Regions from separate parts of the Homo sapiens genome. Here region 2 is linked to region 1. The links are contacts of gene promoters, found by promoter capture Hi-C in human tissues and cell types (Jung and others, 2019). All regions are on one chromosome and are shown on one strand. The core of a region is centred on a gene start or on the middle of the fragment in contact, and the rest is flanking DNA. Distances in the headings are between cores, read along the strand shown.

Region 1 (6,997 bases), core at 1,842-4,341:
TTGGGCGACAGTACGAGACTCCTTCTCAAAAAAAAGACTCTGTACTACTTATTGTGAGGGATACAAAGATGTATAATGACAAGACATAATGACTTGGTCTGGTTTTGGAAGAGGCAAATGAAGCATAAGTAGAAAGATAATGGGGCTTGCCATCAAATCTATCTAGATTTTAATCCTACTTCTGCCACCTAACAGCTATGTGTCTTTAGACAAGTTACTTGCCTCACTGAGCCTCAAGTTTGTCTTCTACAGAATTTAGATGAATAGATGAATACTTGCATAGGGCTGCTGTGAGGATAAAGTGAAGACTTCATCAGAACTATACTGAATAAGACATTTCCACAAAAAAAGTGTTAGAAAATGACACATGCCAGAAGAAAACTGTTTCCTCAGAGCAGTATTTGCATAAAAATGCTTGAACTTGTTTTTTGTTTCTAAAAATGTTATGAAATTCTGAGAGTCATAATAGCCACGTTATGGCCAATATGCCAACCACGTTAAGGGTAGCATATTCGTTTTGGTCTTTATTCCTATATATTTTCTCAATGATATATAGTATCTCCCTTTAGGCTAGAAACTATAATGGTACATTTTTGGCTTGGTGTAATTTACCTTCATTTAAAAGATATTGTTTCTATAGCATGGATCAAAAAGATGTAGAGTTGTTTCATGTTTGAATAAAATTATAATGCAGTTGATACCAATATATGGCGCCCAATTTTCAGGGATCTTGCTGAATAAAGATGGGAAAGGCAGATGAATGAATGATTGATGTCATTACATTTTTCTAGTTTAAACTCTGGTGCAAAATCTTTCACTGCCTTTTATTACTCACTTTTTGTAGATTTATTAATTCTCTGAATTCATTTAAGAATGATAGTATATTATGGAAGATTCGAGTCATACAACATGCCTTACCCATGAAATTGTACCATCTTGGAGAGTGATCCATTGTTTTTTAAAGTCTTCCTCCAGAAAGCACTCTGTCCATTTGTGGGGGTCTGCCGGAGGCACACATTTCATACACATTGACTTGAATCAAATGAGATCCCTTTGTGCTCTCAAGTGTACGGCTATTTTTGAGAATCATTTATTAAGTGATTACTTAATAATTACATCATATTTTCCTCAGAACTAAGCATTACTTTGCTTTTGTACTTATATCAATTTTTAAAATTAAGACATATGCACAAACAACAAAAAGTTTATGAAGTATTTTCTGGAAATAGTGTCTATTTCCTATAGTGATATTACCCTATCAGTATACTGATAAACCTTAGCAGTGGTTAACTTAGCTACACATGTTCTAACATGCTCCTGAATCCCCCATGCTGGGTTACATCCTCTTTCTAGGTATTCCCTCATCCTGTATTACACTGGCATTGTTTATGTCTGTCTCTCCATTAAACCCTATGTTCTGTGGAATACTGTCATATCCAAGTTTATATGCCTAGTGTAGTGACAAGCACTTTAAATAAAGGCATTTACCTGATTTAAACAACTTAATGACTAAATTAATAAATATGAATACTGTAATCTTTGTTTTGTTGCTTGTGTTCTTTTACAGATTAGAATTTGGTCCATAGTTCTTACGTTTGTTTTGGGAGAATATTTTGACCCACTTCTAAGAAGTGTTTCACCTGATCCTGGCTATTTATGACTATGGCTATTGGACTGGATGGGTTCCAGGCATACACTGTCTTGCCTAAAGTAGCGGAATGCGACATCCCTGAGGGTAAGCAAGTGTGTTAGCTTTGTGTTCTGTGCCCTCCTCCAGAAATGACAGTACTTGCTGCAAGACTGTGAGCTCATCGAGGCAGAAGCCATGGCATTCAAATTAGTTTCCTGAGCCAGAACTTAACATCTGCCACAAAGTAGGCAGTTCAGTGAGCTTTTGTAGTTTCCAACTGGATGCAGCACTATGACTGCTTTTAGCTACTAACAGGGCCAGGCACTGAAACAAGCTCTAAATCCCCACAGAAAAATCACTCTGAGCCATCCATCCCTAAATACCAACCTGTGCATGCTATTCACCGTGCCAAGAGCGTTCACTCATTTTTGCTTCTCACAAATCTTTTTTTTTCTTCCTATGGCTTGCATGTTTTGAATGACAGCTAAATCCTAATGCGGACTGTTTATACAATGGAGTCCCACGGAGCCCAAAGATTGTGGTAATATTATTACAGAATTCTCATGATCCTTTTATTATTTTTTAAAAATGAGCCGTATGAATGTGGTAATACTATTAAGTGTCCGGCTCGATGAATTCCTCCATGTGTACACAGCCCGGAACGACCACCAGGATCAAGACGCAATGTTTCCAGCTTTCCATAGGTTCCCTCGTGCCCCACCCCTCAGAAGTAAACGTTATTCTAACTCCTATCACTACCGGTAAGTTTTGTAGGGAATTATTTTGGAGGAAGTGGAAGGTGGAATGAATGGGCCCACAGTCCCCTGGGACTGGGCGAGACCCGTGGAGGCTCCAGGGGTCCGTAGAGCTCTTCGCTCTCACCGACCCGGGCCACACCCGCCAAGCTGGTAGTTCTCCGAACGGATCCCTCACGCCCAGCAATGGCCGGAGGGCCCCCGGGCCCCACCATAATAGCGCTAAGCACGCCACAATGGCAGCCCCGCTGTCTCCCGCGCGGGCCTCGCTGCGTGCTCCCAACCTTGGGAGTTGGCGCCCCTCCCGCGCGACGGACAGCCGGGCGTGGCCCTGGGCGCGACCCGACAGGACGCCAGCAGCCGGCGGGGGCGCTCCAGGACTCGAGATGTGGGGCGCGGGCCCATTGGCTGAGCATTCCCCCGCGAGCCTCCCGGCCGCAGGGCCCACCTCCCGGCCCTCTCTCCGCGCCCCCATTGGCCGTTCGCGTTCCGCGGGCGTCCGCTCCCGCCCCACTCCCGCCCGGAGGGAAACCGGGTTGGGGGTGAGAGGCTAAAGCAGGGAGGAGGATGACTGGTCCTGCGGATAAGGGTGTGCGCGAGAGCCAATCAAAAGCGGATGTCGAAAAGAGGCGCCGCTCCAGCCAGTCACGTCGCGAGGTGCGGTCGGGGCCGGCTGACGCGACTGCGGGCCTCAGCCAATGGGCGTGCCACTGCCCGTCCGCTCTTCAGCAGCCGGTCGCGGGCGGTGGAAAAGCGAGTGAAGAGAGCGCGACGGCGGCGGCGGCGGCGGCGCAGCTATTGCTGGACGGCCAGTGGGAGAGCGAGGCCTGAGCCTCTGCGTCTAGGTGAGAAGGGGGTGCGCCAGCGGGAGCGGCCGGGCTGCGGGCTCCTCCTCGCCTGGCTCGGGAAGTGGTTGCGGGAGCTCGGGCTGCAGGCCTGGCCGAGGCGGGGGCGCCGACCAGCCGTCCCGCCCCCGCCCCCGCCCGGGTACGCCCAGAAGTGAGGGCGCCCGCCTCACCCCGGGTGGTCTCTGCCCCTCTTTGCCCCGCCGCCGCCCTTCACAGGGCCGGGACCGCGTGGGGGACGTACGGTGGGGCCTGGTTTGCAGCCGCGGAGCCCGGGGAGCCGCCTGGGGTGGGAGGCCGCTAGAGGTGGCGAAGGTGGGGCGGGGTGGTTAGCCGAGCAGCGGGCTCCGCGTGCTCGCGGGAGGGTAGCGGCAAAGGGAGGCCTAGTGATTGCAGGATTCCGGGTCTGGGGAGGAAGAAAGTGGTGGGAAATAGGTGATGCTCAGAAAAGGGTGCTGAGGGAGAAGGCGCGGGGCCGGGGAGTGTGGTTGGCCTATTAGAAGTAAGGATTGATAGGGCCTGGGTGGAGATCAGCTGGGAGTGAAGGGGGGACGGGCTTGGGTTTTGAAGGTGAAGGTCTCTGGAGAACTGGGGACACGTGGATCTGGAGTAAGAGGCACCTACTGAAACCGGAAGGTGGCTGAGAAGGTTTTATGTGAGGTGTGGACGGGAGGCTATTGGACTAGAAGGCATTAGTTGGTCTGTTAGGACAAAGTATACAAGCAGCAAACGCGGTAGATTTATGTGTGGTAGGTGAAGGCTGTGAATCTTTTATGAGTAGTTGAGCAAGAACAGTTGTCTGATTCTGCGGTGTCGGAGAGTGGAGGGTCTCAGGTAGTGTCTTGGTCAGGTTTGAAGGTTAATTTACTGCTAGTGGAGGGCCAAATACTCAAAAGAGTTTTTAATTCTCACTACTGGGGCTGATCCTCCTCCTACACTCCACCCCTCCTGCCATCCCTGTGACAGTTCATCTCGTTTTGCCTCAGCAGCACAAGAACTCACTCCCTCCGAAGTAATGGCATACATATTGTTTGCTTTTGACTAGATGGCAGTCAGGAATCCCTTAATTCTTTATGTTAAAAAAAAAAGTGTTGGTTTAAAGACAACATCAGAAGATACTCTCAGAAAATCTGCCCTCCAGGGGAGTTTCTCAGCTGTCATGTTGGGCATGTGTAATATAGCATAAAAATGATGCAAGATCTCTTACAGTAATACAAGTGAGAATTAACGTATAAGTACAATCCTGATGTATTTTTTTCAAATTAATTTAAAAAGTAAACAGAGACAGGGTTTGCTGTCGCCCAGGCTGGAGTGCAGTGGCGAGATCATAGCTCGTTCCAGCCTCAAACTCCTCGGCCCAAGAGATCTTTCCACCGTGGCCTCTCAAAGGCTTGGGATTACAGGGGTGAGCCACCCCACCCAGGCCCTGTTATTCCATACATTTTCCATAAAATTATTTTATAATTTTTGTTTTGTTTTGTTTTTATTTTATAAATTTGTGTGTGTGTGTCTCGCTTTGTTGCCCAGGCTGGAGTGCAGTGACGCGATCTTGGCTCGCTGCAACCTCCACCTCCCAGGTTCAAGTGATCAGCTCTTGCCTCAGCCTCTCGAGTAGTTGGGACTACAGAGACATGCCCCACCGCACCGGCTAATTTTTGTATTTTTAGTAGAGGCGGGGTTTCACCATATTGGCCAGGCTGGTCTCGAACCCCTGACTTCAAGAGATCCATCCGCCTCGGCCTCCCAAAGTGCTGGGATTACAGGCGTTAGCTGCCGCGCCGGCCAAAATTATTCCATAAATTTATCCATAAAAATTCCACATAAATTTTCTGGAGTTTGATTATGTATTAGGCTTGTTGGGAAATTTATTACCCTTGTGAAGAATTTTGTAGCTAAGTAGCTTGAGGGTTTTTTTTTTTTTTTCACTCAGGAAAGACATGGTATGTATGCATCACTGCTATTCTATTTGAAGCTTTTGGAATTTTTATTTATGGGGTGTGGATAGAGGCTGGAGGCAGAGACTGAGGTCAGAGAAGAGGTAGTAGAAAAGAAGGTGGCCCACTACCATATTTCCAGTGTATTTAAATGGGAGATAGAGTTTCTGTTTGAGGATAGGACAAAAGGTTTGTGAAGAGTTATAGAGTCAAGGACAGAAGCCAAAGAGAGCATTTGCTGTGTAACATGTTTGCTTGTTAACCAGATCAGCAAAGCATTTTAACTAATGGACCATTATTTATGATCTAGAAACAATTTTGTGAAAGCGATTTCTTAGTGATGCTGTTTACTGTGATCACATTTGCCCTTAGTATAACAATACCTAAGTGCTGAGGCGACTTGCAGTAGAGAAGTAATCTGAGTGGCGTGGAGTGAATCAGGGAAGGTTTCCTGAAAGAGGTGAGTTTTGAGCCATCATGTGAACTAGAAGTTGGGATGTGGGTTATTACAAGACATGAGGATGACATTCCAGTAGTTTGTACTTGGTATAAGCAACTGTGGACAAGAGTGACAAATTAAAAATGGTTTTTAAGGATGATTGAAGATTCGAATGAAGATTTAGGGGTTTGGAAATCAACCAAGGCTATGTTGCAGCTTAGCTGATAAATAATTTTTTATGTTGGTTAGGAGAGAAAATTAACAGTTGATAATGGATTGGAGATAGGTAGTAAAGGAAAGAGCATAAAATATTTGATAGTTATAGGAGAATGAAGTGAAAGTAAGGTTATTGAGAGGTAGGTTTAACAGTCAACCATATATCATAAGTTGGAAACATTTTTGAGTCCTGTGCTAGAGTATATTGATAATAATAGCAAAATTTATTGGGTGCTACTTTGTGGCAGACACTGTTTTGAACCTTCCAAATATTATCTCATCTTCTGATTATCTGTATTTTATAGATGAGGGAGATAAGACTCAGAGAGATATAACTTGCCCAAGGTCACACAGCTAGGAGGGGACAGGTCAGGATTGGCAGAATCAGTCAGTAAATGTTAATTGAGCATCTGCTTGATGCCAGGCACTGTAGTAAGTGCTGGGTGTTCAATATTGACAAGAAAATTCAAGTCAGACCTCATCTATTTTCTAGAGATTGTCAGTTTATGTAAGAAGAGCCAGTGAAGAAAGAAAAAGATTAGTTGGAGAGATTTCTGTAGATACTGAGGAATACACTGTTTAGAGAAACCTGGGATAGAGTTTTAAAGAGGTGGTGGTTAGCAACAAAGTATATAGCTGAGAGACTCAGAACGATTGAGAAGAAACCATTGAGTTAAGTAAGTAAAAAAGTAATGTGAATTTAGTCACAAGAAAGCTGGAATGAAGATATTAATGTTTGGGCTGGTAGTTAATTGTGTTTAGTGGCAGGTACTCTATACAAATTTAAATATTTTCACAGTTATGGTCAGATTCATAGGAAAGATGATGGTATGACCCCTTGTAATGTTTTAATCTTTGGCTGGAAGATCATGGATGCTTTAAAATGCTTGCACTTTTTAGTTTTTTCAAATTTAAAAAAATGAGCAGGCAGACCGCCTGAGCTCAAGAGTTCAAGAGCAGCCTGGGCAACATGGCAAAACCCCTTTTCTATCCAAAAAAAAAAAAAAAATTAGTTGGGCAAGGTGGTGTGCACACCTGTAATCCCAGCTACTTGGGGGGCTGAGATGGGAGCCTGGGAGGTTGAGGCTGCAGTGAACCTTGATCATGCCGCTGTACTCCAGCCTAAGTGACAAAGTGAGACCCTGTCTCAAAAAAAAAAAAAAAAGTGAGCATTATTT
Region 2 (6,997 bases), core at 3,108-5,607, 870 kb after region 1:
CTCAATGTTCAGCTCGCATTTATAAGTGAGAACATGTGGTATTTGGTTTTCTGTTCCTGTGTTAGTTCACTTAGGATAATGGCCTCCAGCTCCATCCATGTTACTGCAAAGGACATGATTTTGTGTTTTCCTTTTGGTTTTAGAGATAGGGTCTCATTCTGTCTCCCAGGCTAGAGTGCAATGGCGCGAACTTAGCTCACCGTAGCCTCGACCTCCTGGGTTCAAGTGATCCCTCTACCTCAGCCTGAGTAGCTGGGATCACAGTTCTGTGCCACCACACCCACCTAATTTTTGTATTTTTTGTAGAGATGGGGCTTTGCCATGTTGCCCAAGCTGGTCTTGAACTCCTGAGCTCAAGTGATCCGCCTGTCTTCACCTCCCAAAGTGCTGGGATTACAGGAATGAGCCACCAAGCCCAGCCTCCTGTATTTTTTATGGCTGTATAGTATTCTATGGTACTTTAATCTTTTATAGATTGCATCAGTAAGATCCCTTCCTCTCTAGCTCCTGGTTGGGCTCAGCTAATGGAAGACACTAGTAGATCAGAAAGCAATAGGAAAGAGATATCAGATTATGTATTACCTTCTCCCGCTCCATGTTGGCCACAGGTTGGCAGTGGTACTGCATTACCACTTGCTGTTCCCCTGCCCACATTCTGATTATACTCTCTTCAGTTACCCCTTTGGAGAGTGCATCTGATTCTTGCTGAGACTCTGACTAATATAATACCATTTTAATTTTTTTCAGGGTACAGGAGTTATCCAATACTTTTTTCTGTGAAAAAAAAAAAATCCTCATCTTTTTTTGACATTAAGTTTGTATTATACTTCTGGAAATGTTAATATCAATAGGTCTAAAACAGCTGGAAAATAGAACCTAAGTTTATTATCTATGCCCTTCCCTATTTTCGACCTGTTCAAATATATAGGAAAAACAGCTTACAGCTGGTTTTATAATATACATTTTTTCTAATTAAAAAAGGGAGGCCAGGTGCGGTGGCTCACGCCTGTAATCCCAGCACTTTGGGAGGCCAAGGCGGGCAGATCTCCTGAGATCAGGAGTTCGAGATCAGCCTGGCCAAAATGGTGAAACCCCACCTCTACTAAAAATACAAAACTTAGCCCGGCGTAGTGGCACATGCCTGTAGTCCCAGCTACTCGGGAGGCTGAGGCAGAAGAATTGCTTGAACCTGGGAGGCAGAGGTTGCAGTGAGCCGAGATTGTGCCACTGCACTCCAGCCTGGGTGACAGAGCGAGACTCCGTCTCAAAAAAAAAAAAAAAGGGGGATATACATTGAAGATTTTTTTTCAATAAAGACAATATGATTGGCCAGGCTAGGTGGCTCATGCCTGTAATCCCAGCACTCTGGGAGGCCAAGGCGGGCAGACCACTTGAGGTCAGGAGTTGGAGACCACCTTGACCAACATGGCGAAACCCCAGCTTCTTGGGAGGCTGAGGCATAAGAATTGCTTGAACCAAGGAGGTGGAGGTTGCAGGTGAGCCGACATCTGCCACTGTACTCCAGCCTGGGTGACAGAGCAAGACTCTGTCTCAAAAAAAAAAATTTAAAAAAAATCTAAAAATAGCTGCTAAAAAAAGACAATATGATAAATTACTATATTGTACTAGGTAGTGAAACTTACTGTGTTTTTTCCCCTTCAATACTATCCATCTAGAGAAGGGAGAATATCCTGAGAATATATTTTCCAATATGTGTAACATGTATATACATCGTGTGTACATATGCATATTGTGTATATGATTCTTATTTCATAGAAATAAATACTGCATTTCTTTAGGTCCACTTGAATCTAAGCCTGAGCTCCCATCCTGCCATGCTGGTGAGAAATTCTACCTTAGTTATCATTGAGCATTTCCTCTCCATCCAGGGTTGTACAAAGTTTCTAGGGCTTGAATTATTATAGAAGTACCTGGAATTATCTCAAATTACTTGGTCATCTCTCCACATTGATTTGGTGCTGGGATTCCCTTTTGTGCCATCTTCACTTCAGACTGGTGACTCTCATATTTCTTTACCACTGTTGGTACTCAAGAATCTGGAATCAAGTAAGTGAATGTGGCAGCCCCTGCACCCAAGTACAGCTTCCTAAGGTACCCCATGTGGCTTTCCTCTTTGAGGTTTTGCCACTATCTGGGCTTTGTTACAGAACAAGATGGGAATCTTAGCTATTCACTCAAACTATAGGCTTCAGACTTCTAAGTTTTTTTCTTTTTTCTTTTCTTTTCTTTTTTTTTTTTAATAGAAACGGGGTCTCACTATGTTGCCCAGGCAGGTCTTGAACTCCTGGGCTCGAGCCATCTACCCAGCTCAGCCTCCCAAAGTGCTGGGATTACAGGCATGAGCCACTGAGCTTGGCCCAGACTTCTAACTTTTGAGGAATCCCTCTTTCACCTCCCTCTTCTCATTTCACAAGACAGAGCCTATGGTATTTCTGAGCAGTGTTTGCTTTTTGCCTTACAAAAATCTGAAGTCTAGATACTTGCTTGAATGGGAGAAAGGGGTAGTAGGATAGGAGAACACATAAAATTAATATCTCAAGGCTGGGCGCAGTGGCTCATGCCTGTAATCCCAGCACTTTGGGAGGCTGAGGAGGGTGGATCACCTGAGGTCAGGAGTTTGAGACCAGCCTGACCAAAATAGTGAAATCCCCATCTCTACTAAAAATACAAAATTAGCCGGGCATGGAGGTGCATGTCTGTAACCCCAGCTACTTGGGAAGCTGAGGCAGGAGAATCACTTGAACCCAGGAGGTGGAGGTTGCAGTGAGCCGAAATTGTGCCACTGCACTCCAGACTGGGCAACAAGAGCAAAACTCTGCCTCAAAAATACATACATACATACATACATAAATAAAATAAAATAAAAATTAATATCTCAAAATAAACTGCCACAAAAAATTTGTATCAAATTATATATGATTCTTTTTAAACCTGCTTTTCTATGTAAACATTAAACCACGAACATTTCTTCATGTCACATGCTTTAAATGTCTGTATAGCTATAAGGTATTACATCATATAAATGTTTCATAATTTATTTGACTAATATTTGATAGCCTTTAAACAGCTTGCTTTAAACTAGCCTTATCTGCACCCACTCCCACCTTTTTAAAATTTTAATTTTAATTTATTTGTTTATTTTTAGGACAGGCTTTTGCTCTGTTGCCCAGGCTGGAGTGCAGTGGTGTGATCAAAGTTCACTCCTGGGCTCAAGCAACTCTCCTGCCTCAGCCTCTAGAGTAGCTGGGTCTACAGGAGTGAGCCACTGTGCTGACCATTTTTTTTTTAATTACTGTGTTTTTTCCCTTTCAATACTATCCATCTGGAGAAGGGAGAATATCCTGAGAATATATTTTCCAATATGTGTAACATGTATATACATCGTGTGTACATATGCATATTTAAAAAAATTAAAAAAACAAACAAACCTGCTTATAGGAGGCCAGGTGCGGTGGCTCACGCCTGTAATCCCAGCACTTTGGGAGGCAGGCAGATCTCCTGAGATCAGGAATTCAAGACCAGCCTGGCCAACATGGCAAAACCCCGTCTCTACTAAAAATACAAAATTAGCGGGCATGGTGGCAGACGCCTGTAATCCCAGCTACTCGGGAGGCTGAGGCAGGAGAATTGCTTGAACCCAGGAGGCAGAGGTTGCAGTGGGCCGAGATTGCACCACTGCAATCCAGCTTGGGCGACAGAACGAGACTCCATCTCAGGAAAAACAAAAACAAAAAACAAACAAAAAAACCCCTGGTATTTTAGAAGCTTTTTATTTTTAACTGGTTATTCAGAAGCTAAGGTTTTTTTTTTTTCTGGCAACAGCTAACACTTGGAATAGAGCAATCTGGAATTAATAGACATAATTGGGAAGAATAACAATTTAGAGTTATATCTAAACTGTATAATATAATTTTCCTCCCTCAGTGTGTGACTAAAAGAGAGGCCTGTACAAAAGCCATGGCACACTTGAGTTGTTTAGAAATATTTTTTTCCAGAAATTAAGCAATTATTACAGACTGTCATCTAGATAGTTGAGTAACAATGAATCTTACATGTTCATGGGAAAATTTCTTTTTCTTTCTTTCTTTTTTTTTTTTTTTTGAGACGGAGTTTTGCTCTTGTTGCCTAGGCTAGAGTGCAATGGCACGATCTCGGCTCACTGCAACCTCCGCCTCCAGGGTTCAAGAGGTTCTCCTGCCTCAGCTTCCCGAGTAGCTGGGATTACAAGCATGCGCCACCACACCCGGCTAATTTTTGTATTTTTAGTAGAGACGGGGGTTTCTCCATTTTGGTCAGGCTGGTCTCGAACTCCCGATCTCAGGTGATGCGCCCACCTCGGCCTCCCAAAGTGCTGGGATTACAGGCATGAGCCACCCCACCCGGCCATTCATGGGAAAATTTCAGTTTGGCTTTTATTTGGATTTTTTTTATTCTAAAAAATCCTGAAATAACTAATAATGGTCTTTAAATTGGAGAATTAGTGTTGTTTTTCTGTTCCATTCTTCCTGCAAGATACCTCTATTGATCAATTTTGCAAATACTGGTTAAGAATCAGGGTGTATCCTGATCCAAATCCCCAAATCATGCTTCGAGGAGTTGAAAGCCATTAAAACCCCAAGAAACCAAATATCTCTTTTGTTGGTCCACAAGTAGGGCTTTTATATAAGAGCCACTCTGAAGTGTCCAGCCAAGCACTTTCAGCCACCAATATATATGCATAGAAGGTAATAGTGAAAAGCACAGGTTTTGGAGCCAGACATTTCTCATTCCTTCAAAAAATATTTGTTGATCACCTTACTATATACTAAGCATTATTACTAACAATAATAACTGTTATTACTAATCCCGGCCAATGTCTTCTCATTTTCAAAATAAACCTCTCTTAGGCCGCGCGAGGTGGCTCACGCCTGTAATCCCAGCACTTTGGGAGGCCGAGGGGGGCGGATCACCTGCGGTCAAGAATTCGAAACCAGCCTGACCAACATGGCGAAACCCCGTCTTTACTAAAAATACAAACATTAGCCGGGCTTGGTGGTGAGCGCCTGTAATCCCAACTACTCAGGAGGCTGAGGCAAGAGAATCGCTTGAACCCGGGAGGTGGAGGTTGCAGTGAGCAGAGATCTTGCCACTGCACTCCAGCCTGGGCGAAAGAGCGAGACTCCGACTCCAAAAAACAAACAAACAGAAAAACAAACAAAAAAACTCAGATATTTCTTCCTCTAATAGGACAAAGGCAGCATTTAAAAAAATTTTTTTTTATTTTTATTTTTGAGACGGAGTCTCGCTCTGTCGCCCAGGCTGGAGTGCAGTGGCACGATCTCGGCTTATCGCAAGCTCCGCCTCCTGAGTTCATGCCATTCTCCTGCCTCAGCCTCCCGAGTAGCTGGGACTACAGGCGCCCGCCACCACGCCAGGCTAATTTTGTTTTTCTATTTTTAGTAGAGATGGGGTTTCACTGTGTTAGCCAGGATGGTCTCAATCTCCTGACCTCGTGATCCGCCCGCCTCGGCCTCCCGAAGTGCTGGGATTACAGGCGTGAGCCACCGCGCCCTGCCAAAGGCAACATTTTTTCGTGTCATGATGGCTTCAGAATTTCTTTTCCTTTAGCTTGTTGCTGGAGTGGCAACGGCAACAAGAGAACAGACATTTTATGATGGAAGGAGTATGCTTACAAATAGGCCAAATATTTTCATTTGTTTTATTTCTTTATCTTTCCTCAAGACAAGAGAGAAAAAATTCAATCCTTAGTCTGCCAATAGACCAATAATTCCTAAGATATTGTTTACAATAAAAGTAATATGTCCTTTAAAACTAATGTTTTCTAGAATTTCAGTGGCAAACTAAGTGCGCAGTTCCTTCCTCTACTGCTAGGTGGCGATTAATGCCTTATTTAGAAAAAACAATTCTTCCTCCCTGACCCCACCACCCTCGCCCAGAAAAATACGTGCATTTTCTCTTCTTTAAGGTAAGACTTCCCTTAAGGATAATATTCTTTTATTCCTGTTTTGTCCAAGTGAATTTACATTCACCTTTTCCTTTAATTGTTAAGAATAACACATACAAATCAAACGCATACTGCAATAACTAAGGAAGAATAGATCATATCTTTTAAAGAGGGTGGTTTCCAAACTGAGTGTATGTTCATGAATGATACAGAGTAGGAAGTTGCTATAACTTCCCTGCAGGGTTTTTTTTTTTTTTCAGTTTCACTAAAGAAAAATTTCCTGGCCCATGCTAACATCATGCCTAATGTGATTAATTATAAATATAACATTATTAAATATAAAATAAAAATAGAGAAGGAAAATTATTTTAAAGACCTAAAGGCAATTTTAATGTGGTAAAATTACCCTTTTTTTTTTTTTTTTAGACAGAGTATCACTTTGTCACCCAGGCTGGAGTGCAGTGCCATGATCTCAGCTCCCTGCAACTTCCATCTCCCAGGTTCAAGTGATTCTCATGCCTCAGCCTCCCCAGTAGCTGAAATTACAGATGTGCACTGCCACACCTGGCTAACTTTTGTATTTTTAGTAGAGATGGGGTTTTGCCATGTTGGCCAGGCTGGTCTCGAACTCCTGGCCTCAAGTGATCCGCCTGCCTCGGACTCCCAAAGTGCTGGGATTACAAGTGTGAGCCACCGCGCCTGGCCTAAAATTGCTTTTTAATGTGAACTATGGGAAAAACAACGAAATAATTATTCATAAAAGTAACTGAGGGGGTATAATATAAAAAAATTTTTTTTCAGGCAATCTTTCAATATTTATTCCTAGCAAAATTACTTAAAAACTACACATAGTTCCTATGTATTTATAAGTCTAGTGAATCTGGTCTACATTTTTTTCTAAGTATGTTTAATTGTGTGTACATTGCTGTCTCCAACCTTCTTTGCCAAAAAGAATACGTGTAGTGGATGTTTGTTTTATATAAAATTCAAATATTGAATCCCTGTTTAAAGAAGACTCTCGGTTTGGGTCTT

What was found. The method cuts DNA at HindIII sites, captures the fragments that hold promoters and counts their contacts. A contact is called where the count stands out against the background at its distance.
Region 2: a contact is called between a fragment that was not itself captured here and the fragment with the promoter of FAR1 in region 1, in 1 of the 25 tissues and cell types used here (heart left ventricle).

What each region holds. Positions count from the first base shown.
Region 1 is chr11:13,665,577-13,672,573 of GRCh38, forward strand. FAR1 (fatty acyl-CoA reductase 1) reads left to right here and starts at 3,092. Exons shown (of 12, transcript NM_032228.6): 1 at 3,092-3,230. RefSeq lists silencers at 2,642-3,131, 3,242-3,521 and an enhancer at 3,602-3,651. The HindIII fragment of the contact is 12,577 bases long and covers 1-6,384 here.
Region 2 is chr11:14,531,339-14,538,335 of GRCh38, forward strand. It overlaps a transcript of PSMA1 not described here. Among named protein-coding and RNA genes, the nearest start is that of PSMA1, 14 kb to the left of the region's middle. The HindIII fragment of the contact is 5,789 bases long and covers 1,464-6,997 here.